Regions from separate parts of the Homo sapiens genome. Here region 1 is linked to region 2. The links are contacts of gene promoters, found by promoter capture Hi-C in blood cells and fetal thymus (Javierre and others, 2016). All regions are on one chromosome and are shown on one strand. Each heading gives the region's core, a stretch centred on a gene start or on the middle of the fragment in contact. The rest is flanking DNA. Distances are from core to core; before and after follow the strand shown. Region 1 overlaps RPS6KA5 (ribosomal protein S6 kinase A5). Region 2 holds the start of GPR68 (G protein-coupled receptor 68).

Region 1 (6,605 bases), core at 1,146-3,645, 350 kb after region 2:
TACACTTCTCTGCCCCTGAGACCAGGTGGGGTGATGCAGTCCTACTTAAGACAACTTGGAGGCACAAGAGCACAAACCAATCCTGAATGTGCTTTGCCCTAATTTTACCAATAAAGAAACTGAGATTTTGAATGTTCATAAAACTTGTCTAAGGTCACATAGCATGTCAATGCGAATCTAATAAGGAGAACCTGTACTCCAGTTCTGGGCTCTCTTTGTTGTGCTGTTGTAATATCTGTGACCTAGGATCGATGGGGCCCAGTTCTCTACCACATTGAAATATCCTCGAGTGCTATTGCCAGGAATGATACATCATGGTGAGACCAGGCAGCAGCAGCAGTAGCACCATAACCATAATAGCTGCTGCCATTTATTATCACATATCTTGTGTGGTCTAGGTTCTGTACCAGGCACTCTGCATGTATTGTCTTATTCAGTCCTTACCATAGGTCCATGAGGTGAGAAAATGGACACTCATAGAAGTTAAGTAACAGGTCTTACAGTTGGTAAGTGTGGTAAGGCTGGGATCTGAATCCACACAGTCCAACTTCAGAGCCCAACAAGCTTTTATTTACTTTAAACTACTGCCTTAGGGAAGGCAGAATCACATCTGGCAGTAAGCATCCCAAAATGGCATCATCCTCTACTCACTCTTTGGTTCTTGTAGTCAGAAAAGAAATGCCACTGAAGCAAGGACTCAGGGGGAACCGCTCTCCCTGATCCTCTACCTCCTCTTGCCTCATCAAGCCACTCGACACAAGAGGAGGTAATGAGTCCCCTGGCCACGAAGGTGCTTAAGAAGAGGCTCACTAGACAGTCTCCTGTTGAAGATGATATAGAGGAAATTCACATCATTCAAGGAATCAACGGGTGATCTTAGATGCTCTCCTCTGGGTTTGCAGCTGTGCCCATAACTACATCCCAGACAAGATACTTGATCTCTGACCTTCAGACTAATGTCAGGTCCCATGAACAACATTTCTAATTTTTTATTTGTGTCACAAATTAAGTAGATGTTTTGCTATTTATATATTCAGGAGTTACTAAAATATAAATTGTCACATGATATAATCCTATACAAACTAGTATAAATACATTATCAATCTAATATGCAGTTGTAATGTATCTTGGGTTTTCTCATAATGGTGGCACAGTTGCCTAGATCATCCCTGTATCCAGTCTTTTCTTCAACTAATGGGTGAAATTGGTTATGGTGGGTCTTCAGCCTTTGTGCAATAGCATAGTTCATTTTGTGTGCCATGATATGCGTTTCACGTACTCCATGAGTTTGCTATTGCTGCTGCAACAAATCACCACAAACTTAAAACAATACAAATTTATTATCCTGCAGTCTGGAGGTCAGAAGTCCAAAATCAGGCCCATTGGCTTAAAGTCAAGCTGTCACCAGAGCTGGTTCCCTCTTGAGCAGAACCAGGTGCACAGCGGGAGGTGAGTGGCAGGTGAGCCAGCATTACTGCCTGAACTCCACCTCTTGGCAGATCAGCGACAGCCTTAGATTCTCACTGGAGTACAAACTCTATTGTGAACTGCGCATGGCGAGGGATCAAAGTTGCAGCACTCCTTATAAGAATCTAATGCCTGTCCCACCCCACTACTGCCTCCCCTCGTCCATGGAAAAATTGCCTTCCGTGAAACCATTTCCTGGTGCCAAAAAAGTTGCGGACCTGGCTCATGCCTGTAATTCCAGCACTTTGGGAAGGTGAGGCAGGTGGATCACTTGAGGTCAGGAGTTTGAGACCAGTCTGGCCAACATGGTGAGACCCTATCTCTACCAAAAAATACAAAAAATTAGTCAGGCGTGGTGTTGTGCGCCTGTAGTCCTAGCTACTCTGGAGGCTGAGGTGGGATAATCCGTTGAACTTGGGAGGCGGAGGTTGCAGTGAGCCAAGACTGCACCACTGCACTCCAGCCTGGGTGATAGAGTGAGACCCTGTCTCAAAAAAATAAGAAAACAAAAAAGAAAAAAAATGTTGAGGATCACTGCTCTGGAGGCTCTAAGGGACAACCCATTTACTTTCCTTTTGTAGCTTCTAGACACCCCCCAACATTTCCTTGGCTGTGAGCCTTCCATGCATCACTCTAAGATCTTGCCTCCAGGGTCTCATCTCATACTGCTAACTCTGATGAATAATTCAGGATAATCTCACATCTCAAGCTCCTTAATTTACTAATCACATCTCAAAAGGCCCTTTTGCCATCCTTCTAAGGTAACAACCACAGGTTCTGGGCATTAGGACATGAACAACTTTGGAGGGCCATCATTCAAGCTCTACCACGCATACATTTTCTCATTGCTATCTGCATTTTATTGATAAGGATCCTAGAATTAATAAGATAAAGTAGCATCCCAAGATCATGAATAAATAACAGAACTGACCTTCAAATCCAGGTTGAACTCTAAATCTGTTCGTACACCACTGCAAGTATTGCCTTACATCTTTTTTAAAGCTCACCAGCCTACAGTTGTAGCAGACCTGCAAGCTCAACTTTATCTGATGTAGAAACTCAAGTTAGCTTGATGTCTAGTAGGCTGGGAGCAATTTTCTTGTTAGAAGGGTTGTTCACTCTGCAATTTGTCTAATGCTTTCAGGATAATGTACTTATAATTGTCTTTTTTATGAAGCAGTTTATTCTGAGTTTTGCTAATACAGAAAGAAACATTTTGTTTGTGAAGTGATGTTGGCCTTATAATGCATAGCACCTGAATTCAGTATATTGCCATGATATCTTTTTCTAAACCATTTGTGTTCATTTGAGAGCTGATTAAGTCCTTTGCTTTTTTTCTTTTTTGAGACAGGGTCTCTGTCACCCAGGCTGGAGTGCAGTGGCACAGTGACGGCTCCCTGCAGCCTTGACCTCCCGAGCTCAAGTGATTCTCCCACCTCAGCCTCCTGAGTAGCTGGGACTGTAGGCGTGCGCCACCATGTCTGGCTAATTTTTGTTATTATTTTTTGTAGAGATGAGGTCTCACTATGTTGCCTAGGCTGGTCTTGAGCTTCTGGGCTCAAGCAGTCCTCTCACCCTGGCCTCTAAATGTGCTGGGATCTATAGCCCTTTGCTTTTTGATAATTCCTGTATTATTTTTTGGAAATTATCCATTCTGACAGAAAAGAGCCTGGGTGGAGAAGAAGAGAAAGGATGGTAAACATATAACTTACAAAGTAACTATTAAGATAATATTGTTGGGATTAAAGCAAAAACCCATAGTGAGTTATGGGTATTTGTAATGAATATTAACAGGAACCCTGAAACTAATCTGTTGAGTCCTAACAGGAGGTTCAAAATGACAATATCAAACAATACCTTTTTAAACTTTTATGTTTTAATTTTTTTTGTACAGACAGTCTCACTGTGTTGACCAAGCTGGTCTTGAACTCCTGACCTCAAGCAGTCCTCCCACCTCAGCCTCCCAAAGTGCTGGGATTACAGGTGTGAGCCACTGAGCCCAGCCTCATTACCCTTTTAAAAAGATTAATTTGCCATTGGATGGGTGTGCCAGGCCTTGGATGGGTGTGCCAGGCCTCACATGGGCACACCCATCCTACTCAGTTGCCCATTCTACTCAGTCAGTATTCAGATTCTGTATTATTTAAAGCAAGTGACTTCACATTATTGTCACATTATTGTCAGCAGTTTAAAAAGAAAGATGTGTAAACTTGATAGAGAGGGTTGGAGTGGAATTCAAATGAAAGAATTAGCTGGATGCAATTGCACACCTATAGCCCCAGCTCATCGGGAGGCCTGAGATGAGAGAATCCCTTGAGCCCAGGAATTCAAGGGCAGATTTCTTTTTAGAGACTTCATCTCTTAAAACAAAACACTGCAAATGAAAGAATTCATCACAGAAGGGAAAAAGGATATACAGTATAAAGATTTCACTGCAGTACTTGAAATTTTCCATTACCAAAATAGAATTATAAAACAGCTACATTATCTTTCAGCCCTTTTCTCTAAGATATGAGGATTGCCATTGATTATTTTAACAGGGGATTATTTAAACGTATTGGTGGTAGATAGTCAATAAATGTTTTATATGTTAATAGACTTCTGTGCTTCAGGAAGGCCCTCCACGTTATTCTTTCTCTTTTCTAGCTTCACACGTTTCTAGTGATGGAACTTCTGAATGGAGGAGAACTGTTTGAGCGCATTAAGAAAAAGAAGCACTTCAGTGAGACGGAAGCCAGCTACATCATGAGGAAGCTTGTTTCAGCTGTAAGCCACATGCATGATGTTGGAGTGGTGCACAGGGATCTGAAACCTGAGGTATAAAATCACTGGATCTCTTACGTAATTCAGTCTAGCACCATTATTAAAGATCTCCCAAACATGGGGGAAGTTTCTGGGGAGGTTTCCTTATTTTTTTACTTTTCAAGGCTGTTAAATAGATAATTGAAAATACGTTTCTTTGATGTTTTTTCTTTTATATTTCAGTCTAAAATAAATTTGTCTTTGTTTATTTTTTGCCAGCTGATCATCTTGAGGTTATATTTGTAAGTGTGAGAACCTTTTATGGAAAAAATACTTTATGCAACAGTTGTGGACTAAAAATAGCAATGGAAATTTTTATAGCAGAAAATAATATCTCTTACATATAATTTTAGAGGGTTTTTTTTCCAAATGATGTATTTTGAAAACTTATTTTTTACATTTGTAATCAAATTGGTTAGCTCATGAATAAAAATGTATATAATTCTATTCTAAATACTTAAAGAGTTGTCTTGGTTTAATTAGTTATGCCGTCTTTCTATGTGCTTTTCTATGATCGTGCTATAATATTTATAGAACTATATGTAGCAATGCAAAAGTAACAGCTATTTATATGTCTCCTCTTATGAAAGGCTAATAAAGAATGTTCTAACTCTTAGAATGATCCCTTTTTAGTATCAAAAATATGAAAATTCCCTCCTTTTAGAAAATCAACAAAATAATGAAAATTGAAAAACGAAAATCAATACTGTATAAAAAGATAATGATGACTCATCCTTTACCATATACAAGATTATACATATTCTCTCCAAAATAGAACTTTGTTTAATTATCATGTGATTATAATATGTTCTCGAGTATATATAAAATATTATTTGATGTTCCTTTTGTGATTAAGCCACAAAAGATTATTTCTCTAAAAGCACTATTTTTGCCTTTTACTTAGGTATCTTGAATTATTAGAAGAGGATGTTTTAAAAATGGAATTCTTTTCTTCTCTACTTCACATGGAAAAGAAAATTTTTAAAATGAAATTCTGTGCATTAAAATATATTTGGTTTATTCCTTTCATGTATTTAGACTTCTATGTATTTTCTATTACCATTATTCACAGTACTAGTAATTAATCAAAAGTAAATTCTGTTTTATTAACTTGCAACTATGATAGTTCCCCTCTGCTTCCTTCATCATAGTTCTCACTCTCCTACATAACACCCACTGAAAGTATGGTGCTCTGTACATTGGAGATTAGCTGTCTATTTTTAAATGTGAAAGCACACCACTTAAATGTTTTCTTGATAGACAAGGAACAAGCATGTAGTTTTTTTTAATTGAAAAGATCTGTTCCATGACTGTATAGAATTCATTTTCACATGTTTTATTCTTTGATAACTGGCCATCTGTCACCTCATGAGTCTCAAATGAGGCAACTGTCCTCTCTTGCAGAATTTAGATTTGCATTCCTCCTTTCCTGATAAAAAGATAACTTATGTAGCTTAATTCTTCTTATTTGTTATAAGGCTTTTCTTTCAAATACTCACTTGAAATGGGGCAGAACTATCAGATTATTTAGGACATTCTACTGCAATTATAGTCCTAAATCAAACTAGATTTTGGAGAAATGAAAATAGACCTTTGAACTAACATTTTCATAATAAAATGTCTTTCACTTTGACTTTTAAATGGCAGTGTATATTATTTCTAAACTAAAAGTTTAATATTTTCCCATGTGGCACTTTAAGGTCTGATTATCTATCTTTTGGTAGGTAGCTATGTGGATTCATTTTCTGCATAGGCAGAATCCTAAGTCTAGGTAAGAGTCAGATAAATTTAGAAGCTGGCTGACATTCTTAGTAAGCTGCCTTGTATTTTTCAAACTTGTCCCATACTCTTCTGAGATTAAGAAAAGTTGCATACATCCAATTTGTTTCAGGCAGAACTTGAGATGAGGATAAAAGGGGATTGAATGGTTACTTCCCACCATTCCTGACTAGGCACACCCTCCTCCATGTAGAACTGTCTCTAACTTTGAGCTTTGAGAGAAGAGGTAGGCAAGTGAGCAGTGTTTCTCAATTTTACATATTCCGGAATAGGAGGAATGGATTAAAGTCACCAAATTAAAGTGATTGCCACATCCTCTCACTTCTTCTGCTTTAAGAAGTGAAACTGGCCGAGCGCAGTGGCTCACACCTGTAATCCCAGCACTTTGGGAGGCCGAGGCAAGCGGATCACTTGAGGACAGGAGTTTGAGACCAGTCTGGCCAACATGGCAAAACCTCATCTCTACTAAAAATACAAAAAAAGTTAGCCAGGCATGGTGGCGGGCACCTGTAATCCCAGGTACTTGGGAGGCTGAGGCAGCAGAATCACTTGAATCC
Region 2 (6,759 bases), core at 2,373-4,872:
GAGGCGGAGCTTGCAGTGAGCTGAGATTGCGCCACTGCACTCCAGCCTGGGTGACAGAGCGAGACTCCATCTCAAAAAAAAAAGAAGGGAAGAATCTCGGGCCCTACCCCAGACCTACTGAACTGAACCAGAAGATACACTAACAAGATTCCTGGGAGATGTATAATACATGCACACTAACATTCGAGAAGCAGCGCTGTACAGGGTTTTTGTTTTGTTTTGTTTTGCTTGACACATGGTTTCACTCTAGTCGCCCAAGTGTGATCTCGGCTCACTGCAACCTCCACCTTCTGGGCTCAAGCAATTCCCCAGCCTCAGCCCCCTGAGTAGCTGGGACTACAGGCACATGCCACTGCACCCACCAATTTTTTGTATTTTTTGTAGAGACGGGGTTTCACCATGTTGCCCAGATTGGTCTCAAACCCTGAGTCAAGCAATCCACCCGTCTCAGCCTCCGAAAGTACTGGGATTATAGGCATGAGTCACCTCACCCAGCCAGCACTATACAGGGTTTTAAGTAAGTATCACAAGGTGGGTGTGGGAGGCAGAATAATGCCCTCTCTAAAGAGGCCCAGTTCTTAATCCCCAGAACCTGCCACTGCGTTACCTTACGTGGCAAAGGGAGATTAAGGCAGCAGGTGGAATTAAGACTCCTAATCAGCTGACCTTAAAGTAAGGAGTGATCCAGCATTGTCACAAGCAAGGACCCTTTGAAGTGGAAGAGGGAACATGAGAGTCAGAAGAGGAGATGTGATGTGAGAAGGACTCAGTTGACTGCTGTAGGCTTTGAAGATGGAAGATGCCACAAGCCAAAGTATGCTAGAAGTCTCTAGAAGCTGGAAAGACAAGGAAATGGATTTTAGAGCCTCAAGAAAGAATGCGGCCCTGCAGACTGCAGTTTTGATTTTAGCCAGTAAGATCGATGTCATGCTTTTGACCTCCAAAACTGCAAGATAAGAAATCGATGTTGTTTCAGCCAGCCACGGTGGCTCACGCCTGTAATCTGAGTACTCTGGGAAGCCAAGACAGGTGGATCACTTGAGGCCAGTAGTTTGAGACCAGCCTGGCCAACATGGCAAAACCCCATCGCTACTAAAAATACAAAAATTAGGGCCAGGTGTGGTGGCTCACGCCTGTAATCCCAGCACTTTGGGAAGCCGAGGTGGGCGGATCACCTGAGGTCGAGAGTTCAAGACCAGCCTGACCAACATGGAGAAATCCCATCTCTACTAAAAATACAAAATTAGCCAGGCATAGTGACACATGCCTGTAATCCCAGCTACTCAGGAGGCTGAGGCAGGAGAATAGCTTGAACCTGGCAGGTGGAAGTTGCCGTGAGCCGAGATCACGCCATTGCACTCCAGACTGGGCAACAAGAGCGAATCTCAAAAAAAAAAAAAAAAAAAAAAAGTTAGCCTGGTGTGGTGGCGCATGCCTGTAATCCTAGCTCCTTGGGAGGCTGAGGCAGGAAAATTGCTTGAACCCAGGAGGTGGAGGTTGCAGTGAGTGGAGGTGGTACCACTGCACTCCAGCCTGGGCAACAGGATAATCCCTGCCACACAGAGTTGATATAAGGATTAAACAAAGGATGGGCACAGCACCTGGTGCAAAGCAAATGCTCAGGAAATGGTAAAGGGAGCTCTTGGCACTGAGCCACTCCAGGCTATTTTCTAACTCCTTGAGGGCCAAGCACATGAGAGAGCATGGGCTCTTTTTTCTCTTACTGAGCTAGCATTTCACAAAGACCTGGGCTCAGCCAATTTGAGTAAAACCAAAGAAAGTTTCACCCCTCCTTCATCCCAAAGGCATGGTCCTTACTCCAGGTGCAGTAGGGCACATGCTGCCAGCAGAGGGGCTGGGGCAGCTTGCCAGCCCCTGGCAGGGCTGGAGGCGGGAGGGGACACCATGCCATTAGTGGTTCCTGCAGGTATAGACGATGATGGTGTAGACGGCCGGTGTGTGCACACCCTGTTAGGACAGGCCACCCCGTAGAGGGCCAGAGGTGCTCTCTCTGGCAGGTTGTGTCCTAGGGGTAAGCCAGGCAGTCACTGCTAAGTCAGTTCTGTGCTCCTAACCCCGCGTCCTCCTATATGACATCAGGGAAAGCCAGCCACACTTCCGCAACTCAGAAGTAGCACGTGTGTCTAAATGCACGCTACTGCACCACAACAAGCTGAAGCCTTTGCTCGTAACATAAGGCCTGCAAGAAGCAACTGACGTAGGAAACTTTTTTTTTTTTGAGACGGAGTTTCGCTTTTGTCGCCCAGTCTGGAGTGCAATGGCATGATCTCAGCTCACCGCAACCTCTGCCTCCCAGGTTCAAGTGATTCTCCTGCCTCAGCTTCCCGAGTAGCTAGGATTACAGGCATGCGCCACCACCCCCAGCAAATTTTTGTATTTTTAATAGAGATGGGGTTTCACCATGTTGACCAGGCCGGTCTCCAACTCCTGACCTCAGGTGATCCACCCGCCTCGGCTTCCCAAAGTGCTAGGATTCCAGGCGTGAGCCACCGCACCTGGCCGGAAATAGTTTTTAAAAGGCCTGCTATGTGGTAGCATTTGCTTGGAGGGCCCAGGCCCCACTGAAGGGGATTTCCTTAGACCCCCTACCAACAGAGTGAGGGCAGTGGAGCCAAGGCTCTTGGCATGAATAAGATGGGCATCAGTGTTTTAAACTGTGTTGGTCCCCAGAGCAGGGACCAAGCACAGGGCTCTGGCCACTTCCAGCAGGAAGGACTCGCACCCCCAGTGGCCCCATGCACCGTATCTGTTGGCTTCCTGGCTCTGGCAACGTAGCTTATAATCAGCTTCCAAGGAGTCTGCCTTGGAGGGAGGTGGTTACGCCAAAATGCTGGGCCTTTCCATCCTCCGTGTTATGTGTGTGAGGGAGGGAGTTTAGTAAGTGCTCCTGAGAGCCAGAAGGGCCCCCGGGGCCAGAGCCCTGGGCTTGATTCCTTCTCTGGGGACCGACACAGTTGAAAACATTGATGCCCGCCCTATCCTTACTGATGCCCAGAGCCTTAGCTCCACTGCCTTCGCTCTGCTGCTCTGCCAAACAGGATCCTACCTGCTTCACCACATCCGTGGCTGCCCACCTTCACTGCACTTTAGAACAGTCCAGGGAGCTTTAGAGCCACTGATGCTGGCACGTCACTTCCAGGAAACATGATTTAACCAGCCCCGGGTGGGGCCCGGGCATTGGTATTTTTTTTGTAGGCTCCCAGGTATGTTCTCATGCACATGGCCAGGGTTGAGCCCCAGTGACCCAGATGTTGGCGGCTTCCCCCACCCTTGCCTGGATCCCGGTATCCTGTAGGTGCTGAAAGGTGGCTAGAATTAGCCCACCCCCTCCTCCTGTATCCCCCCACCACAGTCCTGAGGGCACCTGCCCCTAGCTCAGGCTTTCACATTCCCAGCGAGGCTGCTCACTGACTCTGGGTTGCATGGAGAGCAGAGGAAGATGCGTGGAGAGAGCCATTCCGCCGCCCTCAGCCTCTGGCTGGCGAGTGGTTCCTCGGCAACCGCCCAGCCTGACACCAGATTGGAGTTCACATGATTCTGCCTCAGCTCGGGAATGGGCAGCCTCCAGCTGGGGATTTTCTAGCCGGAGCTGGGAGGTTCAGGCTGCGGGAAGTCGCTGGAGGGAGAGCTGGGATCGTGGCTGCAAGGGTGCCCAGGCTCCTGCAGAGCCTCTGCAGGAAGCCCAGCTGTTTGAGGTTTGAAGGCAGAGCCTAGCTGGGGCAGGCAGAGTCAGAGAGGACTCGTTTCAGAGTCCCCCCTCAGAGGACTCCCTCCATCCTGATTTCAGCAGCTGCCTGCTCCTCACCTGGTTGCAGAGACCACACTGCCTTCCTGGGGCCCTGAGGCTCTAGGAGAAGCTGGAAAGCACAGGTGGGGGTCCATCCAGCTGTTTCCAAACTGCGGGTTGTGACCCATTCATGGGTCAGTAAATCAACTTCATAGCTCATGACCTGCATTTAAAAAATTGAAATAGAATAGAAATGATCAGAGTGCGTGGCAAGAAGTAGGGTAAGTATTGCTTTGGGGAAGTTTGTTGCTTTGTACAGATGTGTGTGTGTGTGTGTGTGTGTGTGTGTGTGTGTGTGTCTGTGTTCTGGGTCGCGATGTCAGGTGTATTTCTTGCTATTGCTTGTGATCCAAAAAGCTCAAAGGCAGCAAGTTGGTGCCTAGACACGTGGGTTCTGGATTCAGATCCACCCCAACTGACTGTGTGAGTTTGAGCCTCCCTGCATTAGCCTCTCTGGGCTTCAGGTTCTGAGAAATGGCTTAGCAATGCCAGCCCACCTGACTCACAGGGACTTCGTGGGCCCAGATGGGACTGACCTTTGAAACAGTGACAAGGGTTCTAGAAGTGAGATGCTATGGTCCACGTTGTTGCTGGAGTGAGGCGATCTGGGGGGAAAATGGGGACTAAGGAAAAATGCATCCTGATGTTTCCCCTCTCCTCAGAGGGAAAAATAAAGCACTTTCAGAAAATGAAACAGCCTTGCTTAAAGCATGCAGAGGTTTGGCCAACTGAAGGAAAAGGAAGCTGGGCCCTGGGGAAACTCCCCAGCTCTTGTGGGTTTGGGGTTCCGTGAGCAGCCCTGGCACCATGAGTAACTGTCTGTGTGCGTGCCGGTGTGTGCTGCACGAAAGGGGGGGCGAGTTAGATCACTATTTATGTGCCAGCTGGAATCCAGCATTTAGGCACCTCCGCCTTCTGACTTGGGACATGCAAGAGACTCCTAGCTTAGTCAGAGAGGCCTTTCCTTCCTGTTGGGAGCTTAATTTCTCTTGGTCATTAAAGTCCTCAGAGACCTCTATGCTGATTTGCATTTGCTAAAGATTTGCTTTCAGGCGTTGAGTCACTCTATAGTTTTTCTCAATTTTTTAGCTGGGTAATAAAGTGTTATTTTGATTCTTTTCTCCAATGCCTTCCCAAACTACGGACTGGCCACGTGGCTGGTTTTCCTCAGTGGGCGTTGAAAACATGGTTGACCTGCTAAAGCATAGTCCAGGTGAAGGGGCCAGGCCAGGACCAAGCCTGGTGGCCATTGCTGCAGCATCTGTGAGGACTGGAGCTTGGCTGAGCTGGGGGCTTGAGGGTGGTGGTTCTGGGATGATCATGATAGTCAGCACAGCATGAAGGAAAGTATGGACCAGTCCGAGTTCCAGACCTGGCCTGCCGCATCTCAACTGCAGAGACTTCAGCAGGTTGGTTCATCTCTCTGAGCCTCAGTTTCTTTATCTGTAAAGTGGGAGCTGATGAGAGTGGTGTTGAAAGAGAGAACAGACATTCAGAAACTTGCCTGGCAAGTGCAGGGCCCTCGACAGATGTGGCTTAGTTCTTCTCTACATCTACGTTTTTCCATTTATGGAATATTTTCGCATCCACTGTGTTCTTTGATTTTTGAGGAGGAAGGTTCCTGTGGAGATGAGGTAGAGGGCAAGTCAGAGTTTCCATCTGGGGGTGCCTGTCCTCAGGGAACAGTAGAAGGGAAGGCACTGGTGAAAAATCAGGACCCTCAGACCAGCTCAGGCAGGCTGAGCAGAGAGGGGACCACGGTGATTCCTCCTCCTCACTTTCCTGTTTCTATTAATGATATCCTCACTGTCCCAGCACCCAGCCTCAACCCCCCACCACTTACCTATCCACTCACTCACCTACTCACCTACTCACCTATCCACCCACCCATAATCCATCTGCCACCCATTCCCTCATCCATCTATCCATCTTCCCCTCACCTGTGCATCCATTTACACATTCACCCATCCACTTAGCCACCCACCCACCCACCCACCCACCCTTCCATCAGCTCACCTATCCACCCACCCATACGTCCGTCTGTCCACCCATTCACTCATCCCTCTATCCCTCTACCCCTCACCCATGCATCCATTTACACATTCACCCATCCACTTATCCATCCACCCACCCATCTATCCACTCACCTCTCCAGCTGCCCATATATCCATCTATCCAGCCATCCAGTCATCCATCTATCTGGCTACCCCTATCCCTCCATTTACTCATTCACCCTCCCACCTCTCCACCATCCATCCAACAAATAATTCTGGGGAGGCTATAAGGACCAGGCACCAAGAAAAATCTCCAATTTGCCCCTGGTTGTTCCCCACCTCCCTTGTAATTACTTGCCAGTTCTACAGCTTCACACTGTTTCCTCTCTCGCCCTGCCTACCTCTTATTTAGATCCAGTCACACCAACCTACTTTCAGTTCCGCAGAGCTGCCCCTTCTCTTCCTCTTGCATTTCGTCTGTTTCCACACATTTTCCACAGGTAGAAACTCTCCTCTGCTTCGGCAGCACTTCCTCTTTCTTCTGATCTTACTGTAACTGCCGATGCTCAGGAAGGCCTTTCCTGACAGGGTGAGGCCCCCACCCGTGAATCCTCACAAAACCCTGCGCTCTCTTTGTGAGCTTGTTTCACTTATCTTCTCTCCTCCGCCTTAGGACTAAAAACCACTTGTTACTAGGGGCCAGTGTCTAGTGTTGTGCCTTCCATATAATAGACACTCGGTGAGTATTTGCTGTATGAATGAATACTTGGGTGGACGGATGGATGAATGGATGATGGATGTTTGAATGGATGGATGAACAGATGGATGGATGGGTGGATGATTGGAGAACCATGGAAGCATTTGCAGCAGGGTGTGACTGGGTTAGATTTCTGTTTAGAGGATGGCTTTGAGGATAGTAAGATGGAGACAGGAAGCAGCCCAGGAGGAGGCTGTTGC

Evidence for each region. The method cuts DNA at HindIII sites, captures the fragments that hold promoters and counts their contacts. A CHiCAGO score of 5 or more calls a contact.
Region 1: a contact is called between a fragment that was not itself captured here and the fragment with the promoter of GPR68 in region 2, in 3 of 17 cell types (naive CD4 T cells, activated CD4 T cells and naive B cells). The highest score is 6.6, in naive CD4 T cells.

Annotation. Positions count from the first base shown.
Region 1 is chr14:90,892,092-90,898,696 of GRCh38, reverse strand. RPS6KA5 (ribosomal protein S6 kinase A5) reads left to right here. Exons shown (of 17, transcript NM_004755.4): 13 at 4,114-4,284. Among named protein-coding and RNA genes, the nearest start is that of LINC02321, 67 kb to the right of the region's middle. The HindIII fragment of the contact is 3,657 bases long and covers 567-4,223 here.
Region 2 is chr14:91,241,567-91,248,325 of GRCh38, reverse strand. GPR68 (G protein-coupled receptor 68) reads left to right here and starts at 3,622. Exons shown (of 2, transcript NM_001177676.2): 1 at 3,622-4,029. RefSeq lists enhancers at 3,855-3,904, 3,424-3,925, 4,985-5,094. The HindIII fragment of the contact is 37,333 bases long and covers 1-6,759 here.